Regions from separate parts of the Homo sapiens genome. Here regions 1, 2, 3, 4, 5 and 6 are each linked to region 7. The links are contacts of gene promoters, found by promoter capture Hi-C in blood cells and fetal thymus (Javierre and others, 2016). All regions are on one chromosome and are shown on one strand. Each heading gives the region's core, a stretch centred on a gene start or on the middle of the fragment in contact. The rest is flanking DNA. Distances are from core to core; before and after follow the strand shown.

Region 1 (2,700 bases), core at 194-2,693, 1.4 Mb before region 7:
TTATCCTACGTTTGGTCTTGATATGACGAAGTGAGGCCAAAAATAGCTGACAGAGAAGGCTGCTTCCCTTGTTCACAGTTGGTGTGTGTCTTTGTGTCCCATACAATGGAGGGGATATCCCTGTGTAGGCACAGTAGTGCTGAACATGCTTTTTTTTTTTTTTTCCTTTTAAACTTTTTATTAAAAAAAAGCAACTTGGCATTTAAAAAAATGTAGACATTTTTGCGGCTTGCATTTAGTATTGACTTTAACAGGATTAAGGATTGTGAGGAAGGAAATATATATTCACACTTTTTTGTGTTCCTTAGTTGGAATTCTGCACCTTCCTAGTAGCTTCTCTGACTTCTTAACAGTGATTATTCAAATGGCAGAAACTCTGGGGAAGAGATGTTTCAACAAGGAGATAGGTCTAAGGTGATTCTAGGGTGAAAATATAGGGATTGGATTATATGCCATATGGAGGCCTTCTCTTGTCATCCTCCACTTTCCACAACATTTTTTGTGCAGTCGAAGCCATGTTCAGATGAATTTTAGAAGGCAGCCACTTATAGTTAATGTTATTTACTAGTGAGGACAGTGGGAAGAGTGGTAACTTCATGTACTTTGCCTTGGCAACTTTTGGATTGATAGGGAATTAGAGAGCCTTGAGGGTATATGTTTGTGTGTGTGTGTGTGTTTTAGCACCCACCAGATGACCCCAAAGGCCATGCATAGGCTCATTTCATTGTACTTTGGAGATGGTTCTTGGAGAAGTCTTCTGGTGCTTCTGACATCTCATTGTGTAGAGAAAGAGTTGGCAAACTATTTTTGTAAAGGGCCAGTTAGTAAATATTTTAGGTTTTACAGGCCACATGATCTGTCACAACTTTCAATTCTGTTCTTATAGTGTGAAAGCAGCTGTAGACAACAAGGAAGTGAATGAATGTTGCCGTGCTCCAATTGGCCCATAGGCCGAAGTTTTTGGACTCCTGGTATAGACAACTGCCAAATCCACCAACAAACAGTATGAGCTTTATTACACTACAAAGCCAGGACTGGCTATTTTTGGTGGTCTTTGTTTTCTAGATGAGATGTTTTTCTCTGAGTTCATTTAAAATGATTCTGCATAAAGCACATACTCTACTGTACAAAATACTTTTGCCTTCATGGTGATGAAAACTATGGATTGAGGGTCGGGGTGATACCATCTTTAAAGGGATGCAGCTAAAAAGTAGGGACTACCTGCATTTCTTATCTAAAGATAACCACAGTTGGCATTTAGTGATATACTGGCTTTGTATCATGGCCAAAAGTATCTGTAAAGAAGCTTGTGGGCATACTTTTGAAACCTTCTGAAAATAAATGTAAAGCATTTACTTCGTGTGTAAAATTAGAAGTGTCTATGGTTGGTTTGAATAATATGAGTCAAATTATAAGAGCATTAAAGTTTGATACTGCTATCTATTAAAGTCTTAATCTCTTGCAGTGGCTAATTCAGTGTGTAGAATTACACATCGCAATTTTTGTTTTGTTAATTTCAAGTACTAGTGTATATTAACAAATCACTTAAATCATTTAAATGTGTACTTTAAAAAGCTTTGATGTATATACATATATATACGTATATATATATATGTACACGTATATATATACACGTGTGTGTGTGTGTGTGTGTGTGTGTGTGTGTATTTTTTTTTTTTTTGTGACGGGGTCTCATTCTGTCACCCAGGCTGGAGTGCTGTGGTGTGATCTCAGCTCACTGCAACCTCCACCTCCTGGGCTCAAGTCATCCTCCTACCTCAGCCTCTCGAGTGGCTGGGATCACAGGCATGCGCCACCATGCCCGACTAATTTTTTTGTATTTTTGATAGAGATGGGTAACAACTTTTGGATTGATAGGGAATTAGAGAGCCTCGAGGGTATATGTGTGTGTGTTTTAGCACCCACCAGGTAACCCCAAAGGCCATGCATCATGTTGCCCAGGCTGGTCTCTTAACTCCTGAGCTCAGGTAATCCATCTACCTCGACCTCCCTCAGTGCTGGGATTGCAGGCGTGAGCCACCACACCTGGCCAGCATTGCTATATTTTTAAGAGTGAATCTTTCTCACATGTGTTGTTCAGAAAGTGTAATTCACTTTGTGCAATTTTACATTACAGTTAATATTAAAATATTTGTTTCATATGTCAGCAGATACCAACATTGGATGATGGTATATTTAGTTTCATAAATCCTATTTATTTTAGGATTCCCTTGTTTATGGCAGGGGTGGAGATTACTCTTGCAATAATGATCACTTTTTAGTTAGTTTGAAACCTGCTTTTAGTTTATATGTAGTATTTCTACATATTGTTACTTAAATTGAACTAACAATTTACTTTTTAATTTTTCTTCTTCCTTTTAAAAAAAGAGTATATAATCTGACAATGTTAGTACATCTTTTAGAAGGTCACTATAAAGTTGCTTTCCCTATTTATTTGGAAAGGATTATTTCCTTATTATTTTAAAAAATCTTTTAATTTTTGTCTTTTCAAGTAATTTTATCATTGTCCCAAGCCTAAGGATGAGTGGCAATTTAAAAGACACAAGGTGTGCATCTTCTATCTGCAAATACTCCAAACAGAAATTATTCCAGTTTGTTGATACTTTGAGTGGACCAGGGAAAAATGTGTATGTTTTTAGTGTAACTGAATTGTCATTACAAAAAGATGAGTAAAGTTGC
Region 2 (2,700 bases), core at 71-2,570, 1.3 Mb before region 7:
GGTAAAAAGCCTTTTAATCTGATTTACCTCAGCATTTCCCAAATTAACTGAACACTGAAAATTTTTTTTGATACACTTCTTAAAATTTTGTGGAAGTTTTATATAGGATATAGTCTATGAACTACTGATGTAAAATTAAAATTGTTTTATTTGCTTGAAATATTATGTTTTATTGGTCAAAGGAATTAAACTATAAATCTTCATGCTAAAAATTATTAAAAGGGATTAGTGTTGTTTACTATGGTTTTTGTGCATGTCTTTATAAAGTCTTATAACTTTTAAAATTGAAATGTTCTATATTGTTTACTAAAGAACATTTTAATGCCTTGGTGGCATCAATACTTTTTTGCAATCATTAATGATATTTAGAAAGTAGACATATAACATGAAAGTAGAACATAATATAGATTGTACAAATCTTGTTTTTTACCCTATTTTCCCCTGCAGAATGTGAAAACCTTTGCATCTTCTGATAGTCTAGCCAAGGTCCAAGAAGTAGCAAGCTGGCTTTTGGAAATGAATCAGGAACTGCTCTCTGTGGGCAGCAAAAGACGACGAACTGGAGGCTCTCTGAGAGGTAACCCTTCCTCAAGCCAGGTAGATGAAGAACAGATGAATCGTGTGGTAGAGGAGGAACAGCAACAGCAACTCAGACAACAAGAGGAGGAGCACACTGCAAGGAATGGTGAAGTTGTTGGAGTAGAACCTAGACCTGGAGGCCAAAATGATTCCCAGCAAGGACAGTTGGAAGAAAACAATAATAGATTTATTTCGGTAGATGAGGACTCCTCAGGAAACCAAGAAGAACAAGAGGAAGATGAAGAACATGCTGGTGAACAAGATGAGGAGGATGAGGAGGAGGAGGAGATGGACCAGGAGAGTGACGATTTTGATCAGTCTGATGATAGTAGCAGAGAAGATGAACATACACATACTAACAGTGTCACGAACTCCAGTAGTATTGTGGACCTGCCCGTTCACCAACTCTCCTCCCCATTCTATACAAAAACAACAAAAGTGAGTATATTCAATATATTGTTAACCTGAGAAACTTTACATATCTATTTTAATTGTAATGAAACTTTCCTCACAGTCTTTGTATTACTAAAAATTAATCTTAAGATGTGTAATAATAAAATGAACTAGTTTTTTGTCTTACAGAAGGTAATGGAAAGTATTACAAGTAGAAATACTGATAATGGGACAATCTGAGTACAAATGGAGGGAAAGTAATTGAGCCTATTACTATGAAAAATTATTAACATCAAATTTTCGTCTAAACCTTGCGTCCCGGGCAGGGATTAGTAGCTTGTGTGGGGTGTAGAGGTTTCGGGTGAAACATGATTTGTGTAAATCAAGTAATGAAGAAACTTTTTATTTACAAAATGCAGCTGCTAGAGTGGGCTATTCACAAGTGTCACTCTAAGGCATAAATTACTCAGAAGTTGCCTCAAATTAGTTCTAGTTATTTATCATTTGAGAATTAGAAATAATGAATATTCATGTAGAGTAGACTTACAAGTTAAACTATGTTTTGGAAAGGAACATTTTAACTTGAATATACTTGTTTTATAGACATTAACATAATGTCTGTGGTAGTTCATCCTCTTACTCCTACTTGCTTATTTCTTACATTTTACAGTGATTTTAGGCCATAAACAATATACAAACTGATTTAACATCGTATCGTTTAACCTAACTTGACTTGGAATGAAGTATCTTACACACTTGGATTAATAATAATTGAAATGCTAAATCATGTTTTACATCTGCTTGTAAAACCTTACTTTCTAAAATGTGTTTGGCCCTAATTTACCTAGCCTATCTGCAAGTCAGATTTTATTTAGCTGGCATGATCTAAGAAGGACGTGACATCAAGTAGTGATTTTTCATCCATTGTACCATCCCTGTCTCAAGATGTTGAAGCAGTAGCTTTGGATCTCAGCCAGATGGCTCTACCACTAACAACTATAGCACCACTTTGTTAAGGCTCAGACCTTTTATAGTGTCATTCCTCCCTTTTGCCCCCCTAGTCTTGATCATCTTCTTCAAGGTTGCTATATCAAAAGGGAGTTTTAACATCTCTTTTTTTCCTGAGGGTTCAGTTAGAGGAATAGGGGTTTAATACTTAAGGTCCAATTGCACTAACTTATTTCAGAAAGAGGTTCAATCAAAACTAAGCCTTGCGGAACAATGCAGAGTTATTGCTGATTTCTGCTACACTTTAAATTAAAAGCAAAAAAAGCTAGTTAGACAAAACATTATCTTTTTCCAAAAGGAAAAGTCATCCTTATATTCTGTAGGAAACCTTCCAGTTCACAAGTTTGACAGGTGCTTTATCTTTTCTTTACCTTCAAGATGTAAAATTTTGTGTATGATGATTACCTTTTTAAAAACGAAGTATACTGAATTTGTTAGTTTTTTTCTAGTGATTCTGAATCATGAATAACAATTATTGTCCTGTACATATAACAAGAATGGACTGGGCTCTAACCATAGAAGGAATACATGTGTGTATGCATTTATGTATATACACATGTACAGTATAGATGTGTGTATGCATTTATGTATATACACATGTACAGTATAGATGTGTGTATGCATTTATTATATAAGTGTGTATGTATAGTTTTTGATATATTGTTGATCATGAGATGATCTGCCTTCGTAAGTATGGCATGAAGAATACAAAGCTATTTG
Region 3 (2,700 bases), core at 124-2,623, 1.3 Mb before region 7:
AAGTGTCTGTTAAACTTGGAAAAATCCTTAAGGAATTTTTGTGCTGTAAGAATGTGGCTTGTTTTTGTTTACTAAATGTTTTTAAGTGACTGTGCAGCTGTGATTTTGAATATTTCATTTTCTAAATTTAACGAAACTCAGATACAGTTTGACACTTAATTTTAAAAGTAATTACTATGTACTAATTTTGAAAATGAAAAAGAAACACACATGGTATAGTCATTTAGGTGGTACTTTTGGGAGTCTAGAGTAGCTCCTAAATATCAGAAAATGCTGAAATAGAGAAAAAAAATACAGTACTTTGAAGAGAAGAAAGAATAGGGTGGTGGTATGAGCAAATTTAGAGAGGGAATTTAATAGGGTACCTGTTTTGTGGTGGGGTTTTTTTGGTTTGTTTTGTTTTTGTTTGTTTGTTTTTGAGTGAGGAAACTAAAATGTGGCTTTCTAAGCTTCTCTTACTTGCATATATCTTCCATTGGTACTTGGAAAATATAAACATTTCCAGATCCTTTGGTGTTTTTTATGGTCACTACTTACTTTATCAATAAAGGCATTAATTACTGTCAGTTATCACATATCAGACCATTCTATTTTAGATCCTTTGGTCTTTTTCTCTTTAAGAATGTTTCACACATCATGCATCAACATGAGTAAGCAATGTAATTGTCGGTTTTCTTTGCATTCTCTGTGCTGTGCAAGCCACCGGCTATAAATAAGATGATGATCCCCCATGCCCATGCACAAATGAAAAGTCACAGTGATAAAACTACAAACAAACCATTATAGTACAAAATAATAACTGCTTAAATGGACCTACGTACAAAGTACTGTCAGAGTATGAGGAGGCACTCAGAGCTCAATATGAGTGGTTCAGGAAGGGCTTCACAGTAACCCTGAATTAAAACATGAAGATGTTTGCTAAGTAGGTGATCAGAGGAGTGATAGAGGGAACTTGTATCATTGCTTGGGATCGTGTCTTGTCTTATGTTTTTTCATATTAAGTATACTGCTGCAAATTACATCTTGCCGTCAATTTATTAATGTTGAAAAAATACGTATTGAGCACCTAGAGTAGAGAACTTTCCTAGAAACTGTAGATATAACAGTGAACTTGATAGACAAAGGCCATGCCCTCATGGAGCTTAGATTGTAGTTTGGGGAGACAGAAAATAAATACTACTGTTAATATTTTGATGACAGTAAAATAGGGTAATAGAATAAGGTATGATTTGGGATGTAGAAGAGGCACTACTCTAGTTACTTTCTATACATAAACTCATTTAATCCTTAAAATCACCTTGTGAAGTACGTTGTATTGTATTTTACCTGTTTTACACGTGAGGAATCTCAGGCATAGGAAGGTTCTTGCCCCTTAGCTAGTAAGTAATGTAGCTAGGACACTAACTCAAGCAGTCTTATTCCAGCATCACAGCCACTGCAGGAAACGGATCTGGAGTAGGCATTTGTTGAACAGACCCTTAGTGTCCAAATGTTTTAAGGGTTAACTTTTGCCATATAATCTTGGAATTTTAAATGTGTAATTCTCACCTTTCCCAACAATTTATGATGGTCTCAATATCTAATTACTGATAATACTGCCTTCTGTATGTTTTTGTCATCAGATGATGTTTTAGTATTGGGTTGTGCCCTAGTTGTCAGATAGGAGTACAAAGCGACTTAGCACATGATTTATAAATCTGTAACTACACTATGGAAACAACTTGTATGATTTTGTCTTTTATGTAACAAATTTTTAATTAGGTAACAATTTGTATAATTTTGACATCAAAGGGCAAGGCTATTTAAATTTGTAAATATAAACTAAGTTAGGTTTTACAGAAACTAACTTAATGTTGAGGCTTGTAATATAGAAGACAGATGAAAAATATGCTAAAAATAAACTTGGAACTAAGCTCCTGGCAAGGTAAACAAGTGTGAAATAAGTCCACAGTCCCTTGTCTGCAAAGCAGAAATCCATCATGCTCTGAAAACTGAAAATTTAAAAATAAAGGTAGCAAAACCTAACCCAAACTAACATAAAACAGTCATCTTTATTATTTATCTGAATATTCATATATTTTGCTGGAGAAACACTAATGTGTGATATACTGGAAGTGCTCTGTAATAAATAGTATATGCACTCTGTTACCTTTCTACAATTCAAAATATTCTGAATTTAGGAACACAGCTGTCTCCAAGAGCATGGAACTAAATCCAGAGACCTTAGAGTTTTACAACTGTCACCCACTCATAAAAAACTGAACACACTTTGAAATGTCAGAGTAGTCTAAGCTTTATCTTAAGTCTCTGAGTACATGCATATTAAATACTTTAAAACATACATATATAGATGAGTACCTAAAGTTTATTAACCTAATTATAGGCTATTATAACCATATAATACAATGATAGTTTGGAGCTTTTATATTACTTTTCTTCAGTGATTAAAATACAGCTCATGCTAATAGACTTATTCTTTAAATGAGTGTAGAGAACCTCAACCACATTTTTTTTAATTGTCCCAGTATTTCCATGGGAAATTAACACCACAAAATTAATTTTAATCTGCTGATATATAGTATGCATACTCTCTGTGTGTGTTGCTACTGTTACAAAGATGAATAAGACAGCACACCTTTCCCTTAAGGAATCCACAAATGCCTTCATGTCTCTGAGAGACTTGTCTCATCATCCACATTT
Region 4 (2,700 bases), core at 181-2,680, 1.3 Mb before region 7:
TCAAATGACTTTAGATGTAAATTCAAGCCAAAGTAACTCTTTAAAAAGTTTTATTATGAAAATAGAAACTTGCTAAGGCCTCATTTCCATTGAGTGTCAAGGTGGGAAATTGTCACCCAAAATTTTGCCATCCTCAAGATGATCACTTAACGTTTTCATTTTGAATCACCTGTTGTCCTTTCCATTCCTGTTACATTGTAAAATTAACACTCCACTAGGATGACTATAAACCAACTTAGAGCTCCTTGTTTTATAAGATGTCTCGGTTATCCATTGTCACCTGACCAATCACCGTCAAAGCTTTGTGGATTATAACAAACGAGAATTTTATTATTTCTCATTGTTCTTATAGGTTTGTAATTTGAGGAGGGCTGATCTGGCCATTGTTAACTCTGGGTGGCAGTCAGATCATGGCTGGAGGTGCAAAAGTGGGGGTCTAGAACAGCTGAGGGCTGACCCAGAAATTCTTTTTCCGTATCATCTCCTAACATCTCTATATAATACGGTCTTTTTACCTGGGCTAGTTTGGGCTTCTTCAGAGCATGGTGGCCTGAAGGTACTACTTAGCCAGCACATCAGGACTACCAAGTGAGTGTTCCAGCAAGCAAGGTGGAAGCTGAATCTCCTTTTTATGACTCAGCCTGTGAAGTCACATGATACCATTTTTACTATCTCTAATGGTCCAAACAGTCACAAAGGTCTGGCCTGTTATTAAGGCAAGAGGACATGGCCTCTCCCTCTTAGTGAAAGGAGTCTCAGAGTCACCTTGCAAGAAGAGCATGCAAGATGGGGGACAGCGTTGTGACTACCTTTGAGAATACAATTTGCTATAAGAGTTCATAATATCTTTGATGTTATTCCTGTTTCTTTTTTTAAATTTGGGCTTCATAAAAATCAGGCACATTAAAACATTCCATATTTAATATGTAAATGTCTTATACAATACTTTATTTCAGTTATCTAGAACTCATTTATATCTGACAAACTTACATATCTGAAACACTGACAAAGAAGTGTCTCCGAACAACTAATTTAGGAAGTAACACAACTAAGTTAGGATGTAACATTCTGTGGAATTGGATAGATGTTCTGTTACAAAGCACAGGTTTAGGAATTAGACATACCAGGGTTAAAATCTCAACTCTACTACCTGGCAGCTGTGTTACCTTGGGCAAATTTGTAAGCCTTTCTGAGCCTTAGTTTTGTCTGTAACAAGTAGACAAGGATAATGATACCTCAGGGTTTCGGCGTGGTGATTAAGTGATACAAAGCATGATCTAGTAGAAACTCTTGTCAGTGTTTAATCTCTTCCCCTTATCATTGTTCCAGTCTGAAACAATGCGTACGTATTTTCTAAGCCCTATAGCTGCAGACTTCCTTTATATCTCTTACTGATCTCTGATAGTCTCCTTAGACTTATTTATCTTTCTATCCCAAGATCTTTGTATTACAGGCATACTAAAGAATAGTAGGAATTGAATTTTATTTCTTTGTTTCTAATTTTTCTTGATAGCCAGTTAGTGTTTTACTTACTGTAAAGAATGAAAACTTAGGCTCTCAGCTTAATTTAAACCTCAGCTACAAAAAATAACATTGATATTTTTCAGAAAAATTATTTTTTTGAGTATGTAATATTGACAGCGTAAAAGGCCAGTGGTATCAACTGTCAGCCCGTCCAAGAATTAAGTTCTAAATATGTATTTTCTATTGCTTAATCTTATACTTGTTTTCTGTACTTTAATTCTATACTTAAATTCTGTGCTGAAGTACTTTCAGTTAATATTAATAAATCTCACATACTTGCATAGCACATTACTGAAAATTATATAAATGAAGTATGGTACTATGTTTATCTTTCTCAAAATATATTGATTTTTATTTATAATTGCATCAGAAACTCAACAGTATAGGAAATAATGTCCCCCTCCTATTTTACCTATTTAAAGCACCAGCACTCCTTCAGATTTTTTATGTTTCCATAAGTGTAGCTTTTTATTTTTCATAAGATAAATTTTTATAATTTGTCAAACTGTCAATTTGGTTGAGCCTTCTGCATTATAGCTTAATTTTTTAAAGCTGTGTAGCAAAAAAACACACAATTACTTACTGTATTTTAAAAGAATATTAGTATTATTTCCTTAGTCCTAATTATTAGTATAATTAGTATTATGACTCCCTGGCCTGCAATACTCTTAAGAATTTTTATAAGAGAAAGATATTATTGGTAAGTAATGTTTAATTTATTTTAACTGAAAGTTTAAACTGTTATGTTTAAACTGTTTATGGACTTAAGTACTGACATTAAAGAAGTTATTGTCTTTCTTAGACTTAAATTTTATTTTGAGAATTATGGAAAATTAGGTTACTTTAAATCACTTACTCTGTCATTACATGAGGCTTTTTGCATGACTGAAATACCTGTAATTACTGTGTCATTTTTGTCATAGTTGACTTAAAGGTGTAACTATAATAATCACGAACTAAATTCTTGGTGAGCAGCTGTGTAAGGCCATTTTAACAGCTGGGGTAACCCAGCTCAGCCTGTAAGAGTTAAGCTTAATCATGAGACAGGTTATGTTAAGTCATTGAAGACTTCATACTGGGCATTTCTGAAATACTTAGAAAATTCAGTGGGATAGTTGGATTTTTGTTTTATCTTAAGTACTTTTTAAAATGCTTAATGAAAGGATGAGGAAAAGT
Region 5 (2,700 bases), core at 9-2,508, 1.4 Mb before region 7:
CCTATTTATGGCTGAATTAAGGCAAAATAGCTTTTATATCCGATTCTTTCCTCTTCCCTTCTCTTGTTCTGTGTGCTTACTATCATAATAATTGAGTATACATTAATTTTCTTTAAGTATTTATATTTTAAATAAGGTTTTGATGTCAGTAGAGACTTTTTTTTTTCCTTGAAGGTAAGTACCCTTTAAACCACTAATTTGTCACTAGAGTCTATAGTCGCTTCCATATATAATAGGTAGCACAGCTTCTCAGGTCATGTCCTGCTTTGCTGCTCTGCTGACCAATAATACACCTTGGAGATACTGGTTCTGGTTATATGAATAGAACAATTAAATTGTTCTTCATTAGATGGATCTTTGATTACTAATCTTACTCAGAAAGGCTCAACTGGACTTGGATTATTCTAATTGCCAATACTGTTTTTGCACAAATGTCTGCAAATCATTGAACAGTAATACTGACCCCTTTTTCTTCCAATAAAGTTATTGCAGTAATCACATCATTGCAGAGAATATTTCTTAAAAGCTTTTTTCAATATTTACTTCTTTAATGAAAAACTTAATCCAGATTAAGCCACATACATAGACGTCTTGACTTTATTATTTTGAATACCTGAGATTTCCAAAATCTCTTTAACTGTCTTCACACAATTTCTAGTCTGTCATTTTAATTAATTACAACTGTTCATTTCTTCTGCTTTTGTTTCCTCTTCATGTGCTGCCTAGCGTTGCTAGAGTTTCATCAGTTTCCTGCCTTGAGAGGTTTCTAGTACAAATTAACATTTTCCCTTCCTAGTTTATGCAGGTTCCTTCCTGGTAATTTTTATCTTTTTGATCTGTTTCATTCTGCATGTTAGTTATTTGGAACCATTCTACTGTGCTCAAATGAACAGTCCTATCCCTAGTTCTCTTATTCCTTTTTCATTTCATATTTTATACCCTTTTTCCTCAGTCTGTCTTAAAGAATAAAGTGTTTTCATTTCAAAAGCTTATTATCTCTGTTTTTAATCTTAGCCCTTCTTTCCTCTACTATTTTTCTTCCTCTTAATGCTCCATGCTGGGTTCTCTGCCTTATCAGACTTAATCTTGAAAAGTACGTTACTTCCTTCCCATTATCTCCAAGGTTGTTATAGTCCATTCTAGGTGTCTCCAATTTCTCAACTCTTACTCAATTACTTTCTGAAGTTTGACTATTATTTCTACTAGTGTTCAGCTTTCTTAAGTGTAAGTAAACACATTTCTTACTTAACTAGGTAGATAAACATTAGCTGGACGGATCTGGCCGTAAACATGCTATTATTTCCAAGATAAAACTGAGTTCCAAATGGCTAAATCTTTGTCTTTTCACTTTTCATCCATTCCTGTCTTTTTTAGCATTTGTTTTTTTGCTGCTTAACATTCACTTCTCCTTTGTCTTCTGTAATAAACCTTAATGGTTTTTCTCCTCTCTCTGGCTAAATGTTTGTTTTCTTTGTTACTGCTTTCTTCTTTTATATACCACTTATATATAAATTGGGTTGAAGCTTTGCTCTTAGCTCTTTTTCATTACACATCATTTTGAGGAGATGGTCTCGTGTTCATTATGTAGATTATCACAAATTTGATGACTCAGAAATACCACATTTTTCTTAGTGACCTGTTTTACCACTTTCTCAGTCGCCAGGTCCTTAGCACCCCAAAATTGTTATTTCCCAGTGGAAAGTTTGTCTTGTACAATGCTTGCTATATGGTTGGAACTAAGTAAATGCTTTTTGAATCATGAACTAACTCCTTATCTGTCTTTTTTTTTCTTAAGATAATGGTTTTAACTGTCCACCTATTCTCATGTCACAAGCCCTGTAATATCTCTGACCACTTCTTGTCTACACTTGTTAATATTAGTTGTCATATTTTGGTCCTAAGTTTGACTAATGAGGAAGATGACATTTTTGTCTGCAGATGGTGGAAATAAAAATCACAGAGATTGTGATTTCCTTATGGTTTTGTGGGTAATGGTGGAGTTTAAACTTACAACGAAGTTTCTGGTGACATGTTTCCTAGTTTTCACAGAAAACATTCTTTTTTTTTTTGAGACAGAAAGTCTCACTGTGTCGCCCAGGCTGGAGTGCAGTGGTGTGATGTGTCGGCTCACTGCAACCTCTGCCTCCTGGATTCAAGTGATTCTCATGCGTCAGCCTCCAAGTAGCTGGGATTACAGGCGCCCACCACCACGCCCAGCTAATTTTTGTATTTTTAGTATAGATGGAGTTTCACCATGTTGACCAGGCTGGTCTTGAACTCCTGGCCTCAAGTGACCCACCTGTCTCAGCCTCCCAAAGTGCTGGGATTACAGGCATAAGCCACCACACCCAGCCAAAAACATTCTTTATAATGATACAAGTAATATACCAGACAAGAAATTACTCAGTGTACTATGTGAGATTAAAAAAAAAAAAAAAAAAAGACTGGAAGTGGAAGTGGGAGTACTTCAAATTCTTGTCTGATGAGGTAAAGATTTTAACTTGGTGGAAGGAATAGAAATCAAGGATGTGAGAAATTTTTCATTAATTAGAATTTCGAGATTCTTCTTTTAAGAATGCAGTGATGCTAGTGAAGTGGTTGAGTGAACCATCTTTCAGCTAACAATTATAAGATCTGGACAAAATATTGAAAGAAAAACTTTAACTGTTTTAAAAGCCATGGAAAGTAACCAAAAAAGCA
Region 6 (2,700 bases), core at 127-2,626, 1.4 Mb before region 7:
TGCCCTCTAGAGGCACAAATTCAATTGCTCTTAAATTTGAGTACCATAATGCTGCCTGATCTTAGTGTGAAGTTGTGATAATTAATATTAATCAAATGCATGGTAACAAAACCAAATAGAAGAAATCTTATGTTGCTTAATTTTAAGAAAATATGAGGAAACAGAATTGCAATTTATAAATACCCACTTTTTAAATTGTACATGTGATATTTTTGGCTGCTAATAATCTTTTGAATACATTTCTGTATATGGGGAATTGCGGACACATAGTACTTCAAGTCTCCAAACTCTGAGTCTCTCCTGCTAGCAGAAGCCATCCTTCCCTGTGTTAACAACCTTGCTTAAGACAGTTACCATCCATGGGGAAGCTAGTTTCCTCATACCCCTTCCCACGATACTCATGTTTCCATACCTGTAACTGGAGTCAGACTATATCATGCTGCACCTTTGCAGTCACAATGGGAAGAAAAGGATTATATGTAATTTTTTTAAAGTTTTTTTTTTTTTTTTTTTTTTTTGCTGACAAAGCAGCAAAACCTTCAGGAATATGTACAGAAATGGGTGATGATGATGATGTGAGAGAGAAAGAAACATGCTTTTGCATTTGGCTGAATGTATTGGTATGGTGCAGTTATCAGAGATTCTGAATTCATTGTTCTCGTTCAAGTAGCCAGGAGTGGTTCTAATTGTTTGCTCCTTTGGTCTCAGCATTGACTTATACTAAATGAAGTTGAATGCCTAAAAACTCATAGCATAATATAGAGGAAGAAGTCAAAAGATTAAAGGAAATAGAACTGATGGAGTGGATTTATCACTGTGACCATTCACTTACCTCCCCTATTCCCTCTCCAGTATTCTCTACTAAGAGGTCTGGAAGACACTTCATTCACCAACCTAATGAGAAATACTTTGAGGGCAGTGCCAGCATATATGAAAAGTAATTCAATTGCTTTTGTCTGTAGGCTGGAGGAGATACTTTCATTGAAATTGTCTTTTTTACTTCAGGGGGTGTGGCCAGATTCTAGGTAAGGTCCAGGCATCATTTTCATAAGGTAGCTTGACAGGCATGATGATCAGAGATGCACTGACTTGAATTCTTTTTGGCTGTGACTAAATGATCATGGATCCCTACGTCTAAAATAGAGAGGAAGCCTATTAAGATCCTACTTTATCTGTATGAGCAAAAAATTTTAGGTCTCATAGGAGAAGGCCTTACTTGAACTACCATAAGAGTGAGTTGGCCAGCCTGGGCAACATGGTGAAACCCTGTCTCTACAAAAAACACAAAAGTTAACTTTTGTGTTTTGGGCATGGCTGCGTGAGCCTGTGGTCCTGGCTGCTCAGGAGGCTGCCCCCTTTTTGCAGTTTACTTCATGGGTTATATGAGAAAACAGGAAGGAGGGGGATATCACCGAGAGATTCTGATATTGGAGCTGTGTGCAATAACTGATAAGTCTCTGGTTCTTACCTCCATATGAGGAACAGAGAGAGTCTTGTTTGTACAAGGCTTAGTTATAATCTGTCAGGTTTGAGGATCTTGATTGGAAGCATAGACTTGATCTGTATTTGTGGTTTCTCATTTCAAATAGCCTCTCAATGTTGGATAAATTTGCATGTTCATGTTTTATAGAGTCAGAACTCAATTTCCTAGTATTCCTTGCAGCTAGGGCACAAGCATATGACCTAGGCTTTATTGATCAGATGCATCTGTGTAAGACATGAATTCAGGGTCAGAGAAATGCAGGGTAACAGCTCTTGCCTGGAATTGCTTTCTAATGTGCATGTTGAGTGACAAGATATTGAGCTGTTTAGAGGTAGCAGTGACAGAGATACTAGTGAGCCTTGTTGTCCTAGGCTCAGCTTTCATGGTACTAGGGCTGAAGGATGGGAACAATTTGGTGGGGAGACTTAGGTATTTTTCCTGGCATCATATCTCCAAGTGGATTCTTCAGTTCTCTGATAATTCTTGGAATCCCCTAATATATTAATAAATTTATTTTCTCTTGAAACCACCTCAAATAGATTCTGTTTATAGCTTAGAGCCCTGATTGATCGTCTAACTTTAAAGATTTTATTTATCGTCAAAATATTTTATTTTTCTAATTGAGATCTAAAAATTGTCAAGCACTTATACTCTATTTTTTCCCTTCCTAGAGCTCTGCAATCCTTTGCTGTCATTTTTTCTTACCAGGAATGCCAATTTTTGTACCTTTTGAATTGCTTTTTCTTCTTTGCTACTTGGCTTGAGCTCCACTATTGTTATGAAACCTTTCTTATACCATCCCAGCAGCCTGATGGATTTTTTTCTTCCTCTGAATTCCAGTAGCACTTGTTTAGACATTAAGTGCAAGGTGTTTTTTTGTTTTGTTTTGTTTTTCTGTATGCATCTTAGCTTCCGCACTAAATGATAAGCTCCCTGAAAACTAGTACTATGCCTCTTTATATCGCTTGCATTGTCCAACAGAATGTCTTGCACCTATTAGATTCAAGGTTCAGCACAGTCACCCTCATAATATATAGTGATGAGAGTTGCTGAGAATCACAGTGATGCCAGGCTGAATGAGCTGAGATAATAAACTAGTTAGATGCATAGTCTGGCCATGAGGCCCAATTTCCATCTTCCTCAAGGAGTCTGAGACTTGCCTCTCAGTAGTTTTCGTTAGTAGGTGATCATATCTTCTGAATTACTGTCTTCTTAAT
Region 7 (2,700 bases), core at 54-2,553:
AAGCAAAGTCAAGCCTGTAAACTGAGGGTAGAAATTAAGTTAATGGTAAATTATAAAGACCTTAACCTTTGTTATCAAATCTATCCAGACACCAGTGACTTATCAACAGTACTTATTTGAAGCTCAGAACTACCCATGGCACATTTTCTTAATTCAAAAAGCACCATCTTGCTTCTCTCCAAGTGCTGTACTAAAAATGATCACCACAGGTGCCAAGGCTGCAACCAAGAGCTGACATTTCCTTAAAGTCTCCCACCACAGGACCAACAACAGACCAAGATGCCTGCTACAATATACAAGCGCCAACTTAAGGAAAATACAAACCAAGAATAAGCTACTTACTGGTTCCTTGGGTCCTGGTGACGAGCGTCTTTCCAATATTTCTTATATTGAACATAGCAGGTGCTTTCACATCATACCAATCTTTCTTAGAAAATGGATCAACCCTGGATTTTAAGAAGATGCTTAAGTTCCATTGCAGATCAATTCTTACTGTATTTTTCACTGTTAATGGTATTTCCCATTAATATTTTAAAAAGCTAACCGGCAATTTGATACCAAAGTATATCTCACAGTGAGGTGAGGGGAACAAACATAAATCTAGCTCTTCCCACTGTACGTTTCACTGCATGCATCAGACTTTGAAAGGTTATGTCCACTTCCCACCCTCATCGGTCCATCCACTACACAGGCACTTAGAATAACATGCATCGGTCCTTCCACTACACAGGCACGAGTAACATGCAATCTCATTAACTTTGCTGGCACGTAATGGCATGTACTGGTAACTAAGAGACTGCATGGCCCCAAAGCTTAGCAGGAGCTCGCAGATTCCAGCGGGACCAAGCAAAGGCGAGATTGACGGGTCCTGAATGGATAGAAGGGTGCTTTCCTCAACTCCTGCTGTCGCAGTGCCATCAAACACTCGCAGAATTGAGGCAGCTCGTGAGCCCACAAAACTAACATTCCAGCCGAGTCGCGCCGGCAAGCCGGCTCAAACGCGACGCGCGCAAGGACCAGAAGGCCTGGGAAAGGCAGCCGACCTGCCGCTACTCAACACCGACCCTCCAGGCCGCGTTCCTGGGTGCACCAACCCGCCACGGCCCGCACAATCCGACTGGAATCCTCGCCATCCGGCCTACGCCGCGATCTAGGACCAGCCCGCCGATTCCAGCAGACCCCCAAAAAGCAAGACGCCACGACAGTCGCGACTTACACTTTCTTCTTGGCTCCCTTTTTGCCGCCTTTCGTAAGGCGCTTGTTCTTGCCAACCGCCATGGTGCTGGTCAGAGAGCCAAAAGGGCGGAAGTGGGAGTCGCGCGAGAACTTAGGCGTACGGGGGCGGGGCGCGCCGTCTACGTGACCTTTGCCCTGTTATTCTTCCGGCCTCAAGAATTCCGGGACAGTAGAGAGCGCCACTCTTTCTACTGTGGTTGCGACATCGCCATCGTGTGTGGGGAGGCCGCGCGGCATGCCGCGGGCTCACTGGAGGCTGCGCTGTGTAGACCAAGGCGTCGGTGGCCTGACGTGCAGGCGTCTGGTTACCTGTGGTTTCTGTGGCTGTGACGTCGGGAAGTAAGTTTCTGTAAAACGAGACGCCCACTCAACATCGTTCAAAGCTGAACTCACCGTCTAACCCCCAAACCTGCTTTTTGAGAGCATTGGCTTTGGAGTCAGTCAGCGGATCTGATTCAAATGCCGGTTTCAACAGGGCTTTGCTTGAGACCGACCTCTCCACGCTTGTTTCCTCATGCGTAATATGGGGGTGATAAAACGGTCGGCTTCATGAGGTTTCATAGGGCTAAATGAGCATCACTCCAGAGATGCTAGCGACGTTCTGCTTGTTGATGTGGATGCTGGTTCATCTCAGGTGTTGTTGCTTTGTGAACATTCACTAAGCTCTACGCTTATTTGTGTCCTTTTCTATATGTCTGTTATATATTGATTAAAAGGTTTTTTTAAAATAGAGTGAGACCGAACTCGTTGGCTCACACCTGTAATCCCAGCACTTTAAGAGGCTGAGGCAGGGGAATCAACTGAAGCCAGGAATTGGAGACTAGCCTGGGCCACACAGCCAGACCCCGTCTTTACAAGAAAATGATAAAATTAGCAGGGCGTTGGCCGGGCGCGGTGGCTCACGCCTGTAATCCCAGCACTTTGGGAGGCTGAGGCGGGCGGATCGCCTGAGCTCAGGAGTTCGAGACCAGCCTGGCCAACATAGTGAAACCCCGTCTCTACTAAACATACAAAAAATTAGCCGGGTGGGTGCCTGTAATCCCAGCTACTCGGGAGGCTGAGGCACGAGAATCTGAGCTCAGGAGGCGGAAGTTGCAGTGAGCCGAGATCGCGCCATTGCCTGGCCAACAAGAGTGAAACTGCGTCAAAAAAAAAAAAGTGAGATCTCCAAATGTTTCCATTTTTGCAACTAATCCAAACCCGCCTCCCCCATTTTTTTTAACTGTAGGGGTTAACAGAGCACATCCTGGCAAGGTGTGGCTGGCTAGCTCAAGTGTGCAGCCCTCGGAAAGCATCTGGCCCATACAGGCTTGGTACTCAGCCAGTGGTGTGTTGAGTTCCCTTCTCTAACTTCCCCTCTGGCAGAAAACCCTGTGACCAAGCCAAAACCAACCCTTACTTACAAGGCCCCCTGCAAGCTTTTAAACTTACAATCCCTTCCAGTCCTGCTAGCCTCCATCCCCT

The links. The method cuts DNA at HindIII sites, captures the fragments that hold promoters and counts their contacts. A CHiCAGO score of 5 or more calls a contact.
Region 1: a contact is called between a fragment that was not itself captured here and the fragment with the promoter of RPS3A in region 7, in 1 of 17 cell types (fetal thymus). The highest score is 8.8, in fetal thymus.
Region 2: a contact is called between a fragment that was not itself captured here and the fragment with the promoter of RPS3A in region 7, in 1 of 17 cell types (naive CD4 T cells). The highest score is 5.2, in naive CD4 T cells.
Region 3: a contact is called between a fragment that was not itself captured here and the fragment with the promoter of RPS3A in region 7, in 1 of 17 cell types (naive CD8 T cells). The highest score is 7.6, in naive CD8 T cells.
Region 4: a contact is called between a fragment that was not itself captured here and the fragment with the promoter of RPS3A in region 7, in 3 of 17 cell types (naive CD8 T cells, naive CD4 T cells and total CD4 T cells). The highest score is 6.6, in naive CD8 T cells.
Region 5: a fragment that was not itself captured here is called in contact with the fragment with the promoter of RPS3A in region 7 in 2 of 17 cell types (fetal thymus and naive CD8 T cells); the score reaches 9.1 in fetal thymus.
Region 6: a contact is called between a fragment that was not itself captured here and the fragment with the promoter of RPS3A in region 7, in 4 of 17 cell types (fetal thymus, naive CD8 T cells, total CD4 T cells and 1 more). The highest score is 10.6, in fetal thymus.

The regions. Positions count from the first base shown.
Region 1 is chr4:152,529,037-152,531,736 of GRCh38, reverse strand. The region is part of intron 2 of FBXW7 (F-box and WD repeat domain containing 7); the gene reads left to right. Among named protein-coding and RNA genes, the nearest start is that of FBXW7, 5.7 kb to the left of the region's middle. The HindIII fragment of the contact is 269 bases long and covers 1,309-1,577 here.
Region 2 is chr4:152,409,620-152,412,319 of GRCh38, reverse strand. FBXW7 (F-box and WD repeat domain containing 7) reads left to right here. Exons shown (of 14, transcript NM_001349798.2): 4 at 448-1,017. The coding sequence starts at 517. Among named protein-coding and RNA genes, the nearest start is that of FBXW7-AS1, 73 kb to the right of the region's middle. The HindIII fragment of the contact is 8,756 bases long and covers 1-2,700 here.
Region 3 is chr4:152,371,856-152,374,555 of GRCh38, reverse strand. The region is part of intron 4 of FBXW7 (F-box and WD repeat domain containing 7); the gene reads left to right. Among named protein-coding and RNA genes, the nearest start is that of FBXW7-AS1, 36 kb to the right of the region's middle. The HindIII fragment of the contact is 1,843 bases long and covers 452-2,294 here.
Region 4 is chr4:152,390,247-152,392,946 of GRCh38, reverse strand. All of the region lies in intron 4 of FBXW7 (F-box and WD repeat domain containing 7), which reads left to right. Among named protein-coding and RNA genes, the nearest start is that of FBXW7-AS1, 54 kb to the right of the region's middle. The HindIII fragment of the contact is 2,255 bases long and covers 303-2,557 here.
Region 5 is chr4:152,462,660-152,465,359 of GRCh38, reverse strand. All of the region lies in intron 2 of FBXW7 (F-box and WD repeat domain containing 7), which reads left to right. Among named protein-coding and RNA genes, the nearest start is that of MIR3140, 25 kb to the left of the region's middle. The HindIII fragment of the contact is 535 bases long and covers 991-1,525 here.
Region 6 is chr4:152,498,315-152,501,014 of GRCh38, reverse strand. The region is part of intron 2 of FBXW7 (F-box and WD repeat domain containing 7); the gene reads left to right. Among named protein-coding and RNA genes, the nearest start is that of MIR3140, 10 kb to the right of the region's middle. The HindIII fragment of the contact is 2,847 bases long and covers 1-2,700 here.
Region 7 is chr4:151,098,231-151,100,930 of GRCh38, reverse strand. RPS3A (ribosomal protein S3A) reads right to left here and starts at 1,303. Exons shown (of 6, transcript NM_001006.5): 1 at 1,217-1,303; 2 at 343-446. The coding sequence starts at 1,278. RefSeq lists enhancers at 380-963, 984-1,543, 964-1,548, 847-2,046, 2,324-2,393. The HindIII fragment of the contact is 1,842 bases long and covers 815-2,656 here.